Regions from separate parts of the Homo sapiens genome. Here region 2 is linked to region 1. Evidence: promoter capture Hi-C in 16 types of primary human blood cells and fetal thymus (Javierre and others, 2016). All regions are on one chromosome and are shown on one strand. The core of a region is centred on a gene start or on the middle of the fragment in contact, and the rest is flanking DNA. Distances in the headings are between cores, read along the strand shown. Region 1 holds the start of FLACC1 (flagellum associated containing coiled-coil domains 1). Region 2 overlaps KIAA2012.

The links. Contacts are between HindIII fragments. The CHiCAGO score rates a contact against its expected background, and 5 or more counts as called.
Region 2: a fragment that was not itself captured here is called in contact with the fragment with the promoter of FLACC1 in region 1 in 1 of 17 cell types (naive CD8 T cells); the score reaches 5.1 in naive CD8 T cells.

The regions. Positions count from the first base shown.
Region 1 is chr2:201,355,949-201,359,990 of GRCh38, reverse strand. It overlaps FLACC1 (flagellum associated containing coiled-coil domains 1), which reads left to right and starts at 2,646. Exons shown (of 15, transcript NM_001127391.3): 1 at 2,646-3,009. The HindIII fragment of the contact is 10,294 bases long and covers 1-4,042 here.
Region 2 is chr2:202,174,840-202,178,833 of GRCh38, reverse strand. The region is part of intron 15 of KIAA2012; the gene reads right to left. Among named protein-coding and RNA genes, the nearest start is that of KIAA2012-AS1, 60 kb to the right of the region's middle. The HindIII fragment of the contact is 6,218 bases long and covers 1-3,994 here.

The DNA of each region.
Region 1 (4,042 bases), core at 1,397-3,896:
TTTTAGCCATGCTTCACTCAAGACCCAAATCCTGCTGCTTTTTTTTTTTAATCATAAGAAAGGATTTAAATATAAAATTTTACACATTAAACACACTCAAAGTAAATATTCAATCTCTGGATGGAGACAGATTGTCTAGATGACTAATAGAGTCTATCAATTCTTCTCTAAGTTATTTCCCTCCTTTTAATCTTTGAAAGTCTCTCTTCATCTAGCCTGTTCATGGTGCTCAGAGTTGAAGCAGCCATAGTGCAACCAAGACGCTTCCCTCCATCAACACACCGAGGCTGGCATAACAGAGAGATGGAAAGAGCCCAGTTCTCCAAGGACATTGCTGAATCTTTGCACCAACTCTGATAGCACTGCCTCCAGACTCTATTTCATGAGGTTAATAAACCTCTTTGATGTAAGCCACTTGCAATCAAGCAACAGGTCTATGCATTTTAACTACACATGGCCCACACTGAGAAATCTTGTCGTAAATACTGGTGTCCTCAGAGCTCTGTTCTAGACCCTCTTCTCTCCTTACACAATACTCTCTCTATATGTGATCTCACTCGCTCCCTTGGCTTGGAATAGTATCCACTCTGAAGACTCCTAAATCTGCTTCTAGGCCAGAATCTTCCTCTGAACTTCTAAAATATGTAAGAAACTCTAACAGACGTCACCACTTGTCTATTAGTCTCCCTGCACCTCAACATATCCAAAACTGAACTAATAATCTGCTCCCTAGAACCTGTTTATCCCTCCACACTTTCCTATCTCAATAAATGGCACCACGGTCAACTCAATTGCTCGAGCTGGAAAGCCAGGAATCATCACCTTCTCCTTTTCGCTCATCCCAGCATCCAGTCAATCACCAAGTTCTATCATGTCTTCTCTCCATCCCCACTGCTGCTCCTCAGTCAGGGCCATCGTCAGGTCCCATGACGACCACTGCCACAGACTTTTACCTGGTTTTCCTGGCCCTTCCAATTGCTTCCCTATATTGCAGTCAGAATGATCTTTCTGATATGTAGATCTAGTCAGATCTCTTCTCTGTTTAACACTGCTGCCTGACTCACTGGACTAGAAGAGTAACTCCTGCTATGAACTCCCACTGCTTCTGGCAAGTCTCAATATGAGTCATTGTGGCTGCATGGTGACTTACACCTGTAATCCCAGCACTTTGGGAGGCCGAAGCAGGAGGATCACTTGAATTCAGGAGTACAAGACCAGCCTGGACAACATAGCAAGGCCTCATGTATACTAAAAGTCAAAAAAATTAGCTGGGCGGCCGGGCGCAGTGGCTCACGCCTGTAATCCCAGCACTTTGGGAGGCCGAGGCGGGCGGATCACGAGGTCAGGAGATCGAGACCATCCCGGCTAAAACGGTGAAACCCCGTCTCTACTAAAAATACAAAAAAATTAGCCGGGCGTAGTGGCGGGCGCCTGTAGTCCCAGCTACTTGGGAGGCTGAGGCAGGAGAATGGCGTGAACCCGGGAGGCGGAGCTTGCAGTGAGCCGAGATCCCGCCACTGCACTCCAGCCTGGGTGACAGAGCGAGACTCCGTCTCAAAAAAAAAAAAAAAAAAAAAAATTAGCTGGGCATGGTGCTGTGCACCTGTGTAGTCCCATCTACTTGGGAGTCTGAGGCAGAAGGATCGCTTGAGTCCAGGAGGTCAAGGCTGCAGTGAGCTATGCATGCAGCCTGCACTGCCACTGCCACTGCACCGCAGCCTGGGTAACAGAGTGAGCTACTGTCTCAAAGGAAAAAAAAATTAATTATGCTTTTATTGAGCTTTTTTATTGTCTGTTTTCTCATTGGTCTCTAAGTTGTATTGAGTATAAGAACTGAGGTATATCCCCACACCTAGCAATAGTGCCTGGCACACAGTAGACAACAAATGTGAAGTTGAGTGAATAGATGAATTTATAACAATATTTTGTAAGCTAGGGGTTGTGACCCACCAGGATCATGAAATCAATCTAGTGGATTATAATCAGCTTTAATTTAAAGAAGAAAAAGAAATAGAAGAGAATAGCAAATAATAAGAGTATTATTTCATGAAATTTTTTTATTACAAAATTTGTAAAATGTATTTCTTATAATGAGTGGCAGTAAAACTAAAATGAAAGCCACTGGGTTGTAATAAGCAAGTACTTTTTTCTATAGTAAGAAAAAGCAGCTTTATTTAAAAAAAAAAATCGGAAAACCTTGTGACTGCAAAAGATTCCTGCCTTGGGGGATTTTTACTTTCACAGATTTCAAAGCCTTAAACTCGAGGGAAAAAAGTGTCTAGAGTTTTAGGTTTCTGTGAGTAGATCACAGAGGAATTAAAAATCCATCACAGATCCTGCCTGGTAACTATTGCCATAGACCAATGAAGCCTAAAAGTGCTGTTGAATTCTATTTCCTCTGAAGATATATCTTAAACTTTTTTGTCCCATGACTGATGACGAAAGTGGAAATCCAGTGTTAAAAGTATGAATTCTTTGCTGTTGAGGGTGGTCACTGATTTGTGTCTTGGAGAATTTAATTGGCTGTTTCTCCCAACCTTCTCTCTTGAAGAAAAGAGCCCTGAGCCAATGAGGAGCTACTGTTCTGTGTCCATAGCAACAAAATAAACAAACTTTGGCCTGCCATCTCCCAAGGGCAAACCTCACAACTCAGGCCCAAGTCACAGGAATCTGAATGGTGGGGTGACCTTCTCCTCTAGTTTAATTTCATTGCAATACTGAGAAACTTCAACTGTTTTGTCTTTAGAAGGGAAATTCATGTTTGTGCCAGGCCAGCCTTTGTAAAAGCCTTTGATTGGATTCACTAGAAGTCTGTCTTCCCGCAGTACATATACTGTGAATTTTCTCCTTCGGCATTTCAACCACTTGGAATGGCCACTAAAGTGGCTTTTGATCTAAAGTAAACTCTGATTCTGTGTTGATGGGGAACCATTTCTCTCTAACATGGTGGTTTCTTTAAGATGTTTGACTTGGGCCACATGAGAATAACAGATCTTTGGGCAGTCCAAGGTAAGCTCTTTGGAAAAGATGTTTTATATTATTTTTTCTACTGATTATTAATACTAACCAGTAACTTCTCTGAAGCCTCTGCCGGCTCACTGGTGACTATTGTTAGGGCAAGCCTCAGGTAAAATCATCAGGTAGAAGTGCAGGAAAGGGAAAAAAGGGGGAGAAAAAATCCTTACACACACTCACACACCCCTCTATAATTAGAGCTATATGATGTCAAGCCACTGTAAATGCAGATCTATCTGTGATGACATGGAAATATCAACTAGATATCCTGTTACACAAAAAGAACAAGATGCAACATTGTGTGCAAAGTATGCTCTCACTTATGCAAATAATTTAAAAAATCTATTATGCTTCTCTACAGGTTAAGTTCTATATGCAAAACATTTAAGGTTATATGCACTCACAACATTTCTGGAAGGATGCCCCAAAAATCTGTTAGAAGTAGTTCCCACTTAAGAAGCTATGAGAAGTCAAGGGCTGATTTTAGCTACTGAAATATTAAAATACTGCCATATAGGCAGGGCACGGTAGCTCACACCTGTAATCCCAGCACTTTGGGAGGCTGAGATGGGTGGATCACCTGAAGTCAGGAGTTTGAGACCAGCCTGGCCAATATGGTGAAACCCCATCGTTATAAAAATACAAAAATTAGCCAGGCATGGTGGCGGGTGCCTGTAATTCCAGCTACTGGGGAAGCTGAGGCAGGAGAATCGCTTGAACCTCGGAGGTAGAGGTTGCAGTGAGCCAAGACCACACCATTGCACTCCAGCCTAGGCAACAAGAGCAAAACTCCGTCTCAAAACAATAATAATAATAAATAAAATACTGTCATATTGATTGGTAGATGACCATTGTCCAAGCCCCTTGCATGTCCTCCTTGCCACCTTGGTTGTCCCAACTCCTCCCCTGGCACCCCCAGACCACCTCATGATTCAGCAACTAAGGGGTTAATGCCTGGCATGGAGGTGGGAGTGAGATCTCCCAGGACCCTGTTCCAACCCTGGTTGATTATTCAATAGCCTTGTCT
Region 2 (3,994 bases), core at 810-3,309, 820 kb before region 1:
CACTGTCTCTCAAATCAACCACCAGACTTTAGAGGGGCACAAGATTGTTAACGCGCAAAGGTGGTTGAGGAATTGGAAAGGTTGACTGGGGCTGCACCTTGGAATTTATTTTGTCTTGGATAATATGTAACATTAACAGAGAGCAGAAGCTGATTAAAGTATCTTGGTGCCAAAGGGTAGTTCTGTGAGTATTTCTTTCCTTAACATGACTGGCGCGAAAAAACTCTCACTGAAGACTTTCACTGCTCTTCTCAACTATTTTGAACTCTGGGACAGGGCATGATAGAACCAGCAGAGGGCGTATTTGTATTGACCAAAAGCTGAGGTTGTACATTGGTGAAACTTCCATTGTGATTAGAATTGAAACCTTCCCAGTTTTGGGATGTGGGCCATAGAAGGGTGATTTTTTTTTTCTCTTAGTAAAATAACCTGATATTTAGGAAGTATTGGAACAAACGAAGTCAGTGCTTTGAATAACTTACAACTTTTAAGTACTTTTTAAAAGTCTATAAAATATCTTAAGCGTTCACAGTATAGGAAAAATACTGTATACTCATTGCCACTTAGTTTTGTAAAATTTTAACATTTTGCCATATTTGAGTCATGCATTTCTTTCTTTCTTTCTTTCTTTTTCTGAGACAGAGTCTCACTCTGTTGCCCAGGATGGAGTGCAATGGCACCATCTCAGCTCACTGCAACCTCCACCTCCTAGGTTCAAGCAATTCTCCTGCCTCAGCCTCCCAAGTAGCTGGGATTACAGGTGTACGCCACCATGCTCAGCTTATTTTTGTATTTTTACTACAGACAGGGTTTCACCATGTTGGCCAGGCTGGTCTCAAATTCCTGAACTCAAGTGATCTGCCTGCCTTGGCCTCCCAAAGTGCTGGGATTACAGGCATGAGCCACTGTGCCCAGCCTAAGTCATGCATTTTCTAAAGAAATCAAACATTTAAGACACAGTCCAAGACTTCATTTATCACATGCTACTATGGTGTGAATGTTATCGTCTCCTTCAAAATTTGTGTGTTGGAAACTCAATCAATATTCAATGCAGCAGTGTTGGGAGGTGGGGCTTAATAAAAAGTGTTTAGGTCATGGAGGGCTCCATCCTCATGAATGGATTAATGCTGCTATAAAAAGGGTTTGTGGGCTGGGCACAGTGATGCACACCTGTAGTCTCAGCTACTCGGGACACTGAGGCTGTGGATAGTGTGAGTCCAGGAATTCAGGTTGAGCCTGGGCAACATAGAGAGACCCCATCTCTAAAAAAAGAAAAAGGGCTTGTGGGAATGAGTTCCCTCTCTTTTGCCTTTTTGCCTCCCACCACGTGAGGACACAGTAAGAAACCTGCATCTTGATCTTGGGCTTCTCAGCCTCCAGAACTGTGGGAGACTGTTCTGTTCTTCATAAATTACCCAATCTCAGGCATTCTGTTATAGCATCACAAAATGGATTAAGACACATATAATCCCATTTCCCTCTCCCTCCCAGAGGTAATCAGTCTCTTCAATTTGATATTCATCAATCCTCATATATATTTTTATATCTGTATTACATATACATGCACATGTAAACAATATATAGTATTTTTTACAAATTAAAACTTTACATAAATGATATTATTTATGTAACTTGTTCAACTTGCCTTATTTTGCTTAATAAGGCAAAAAACCCTTAATAAGTCTTTTGGGATTAACCCATATTAATACATGTAATTTTATTTTCAGCTATCATATAGTATTCCGTTGTATAAATATGTGACCATTTAAAAATCCATTTTACTATTGGTGGCCATTTTGATTATTTCCAATTGTTTATGATTATTAATAATGTTTCAATGAACCTTTTTAGGTGAGTCACTGTTCATACATGCTTTCTCTAAAGGATACCTGGGAATGAACTTGTTGGGATGCAGGATATATGCATCTTCAATTTATTGAATATTTTCAAATTGCTCTAAATTACTAAAACTTTATATCCTCATTAATAGTGTTTATAGACTTTTAAACTTTTGCTGGTCTGATATATATGAAATGATATCTTTTTGTTTTAACTGGGATTTTCCTGATTAGTAAGGAGAACTTTTTTTTCTCTATGGCCATTTATTTGTGTTTCTTCTTCTGTTAGTTGCCTGTTCACATCATTTGCTCATTTTTCCTTTGGGTTGATTGTCTTTTTCTTTCCCTATTTGTAGAGGGAAGAAATGCTGCTGCATTTTGGTTACTAATGCTTTGTTGGTTACATGCATTGCAGGTATCTCCTTCTAATCTGCAATTTGGCTTTTAACTTCATGTTGTCTTGTTGAAAACTTCAAACTTTAATATAGTCAGATTCATTGGCGGGGCACAGTGGCTCACACCTGTAATCCCAGCACTTTGGGAGGCCAAGGCAGGCTGATCACTTGAGTTCAGGAATTTGAGACCAGCCTGGCCAACATGGTGAAACCCTGTCTCTACTAAAAATACAAAAATTAGCCGGGCCTGGTGGCACACACCTGTAATCCCAGCTACTTGGAAGGCTGAGGCAGCAGAATCGCTTGAACCCAGGGGACAGAGGTTGCAGTGAGCCAAGATCATGCCATTGCACTTTCTGGGCAATAGAGCGAGACTCCGTCCCAAAAAAAAAAAAAAGATTTATCAATAATTTTCTTTATGGTTTGTGTTATGAATAATAGGTAAAAAGTTTTTTCCTTTCCAAAATTCATAAAAATATTCTGCTATATTTTCCTCTAAAAGTTAAATTTTGCTTTTTGACATTAAGCTCCTGAATACACCTGATATTTTGTGAGGTGAGAATTTTAAAATTGCATAACCAGTTGTCTCAAAATTATATAGTGAATAATAGATCATCCTTTCTCCACTATTTCCCTTTATAATGCCATTGCCATATATCAAGTTTCCATATGTGGGCACATTTATTTCTGGATTCTCTATTCTCTTCTGTCTGTCTCTAAGCCAATAGCACACAGTTTTATTTTTTACAGCTTTAAAATAAGTTTTTATATTTGTCAGGGCAAACTTCCACTTTATTTTTTTTCAAAATTATACTGGCTAATATCTTAGTCTGTTCAGGCTGCTATAACAAAATACCATAAACTGGGTAGCTTAGAAACAACAGAAATTTATTTCTTGTGGGTCTAGAGGCTGGAAAGTTCAAGATCAAGGTGCTGGAACATTCAGTGTCTGGGGACATTCAGTGTCTGGGGAAGTCTCACTTTCTGGTTCATGGAGGGCACCTTCTTTTGTGTCCTCACATGATAAAAGGGGCAAGATAGCTCTCTGGGGCCTCTTTTGTAAAGGCACTAATCTCATTTATGAGGGCTCTGCCCTCATGACTTAATCACCTCCCAGAGGCCCAACCTCCAAATACCTTTACATTGGTGATGAGGTTTCAGCATGTGAATTTTTGGGGGACACAAACATTCAGACCATGACAACTATTTCTGGCTTTTCTATATGAATTTTAATATCAGCTAATCATGTTCTGCCAAAAACCCTGTTGGGGATTTTTAAAATTGAAATTGCACTGAATTTATAGACTGCCAAAAGGAAAAACCAAACCAAACCGGAATCTGATCAAGTTTCTAGACCCAAGTGTTAACTTACAGGACATGTGGAAGACAGAGAAACATGTTAAACTACACTATGAGGACGCAATCAGCAAAGTCTAGATTGAAACTCAACAAGACAAGTGACCCAATTTCCTACAAATACACTAAAAGGGGGAAAAAAAAGAAATGGAAGGGAACTTATAAATTCAATGAGATTTAAAGGTCATATCAACCAATTGTAAACAGTTGGTTTGCAAATTCCAAAACAATTATAATAATTATGGGACAATTTGAACTTTGAAAACTGACTGAATATTCAATTATATTAAAGAATTATTTAAATTTTGGGTGTAATAATGGTATCATGATTATGTTAAAAGTCATTTCTCGGTGCAGCGCACCAGCATGGCACATGTATACATATGTAACTAACCTGCACATTGT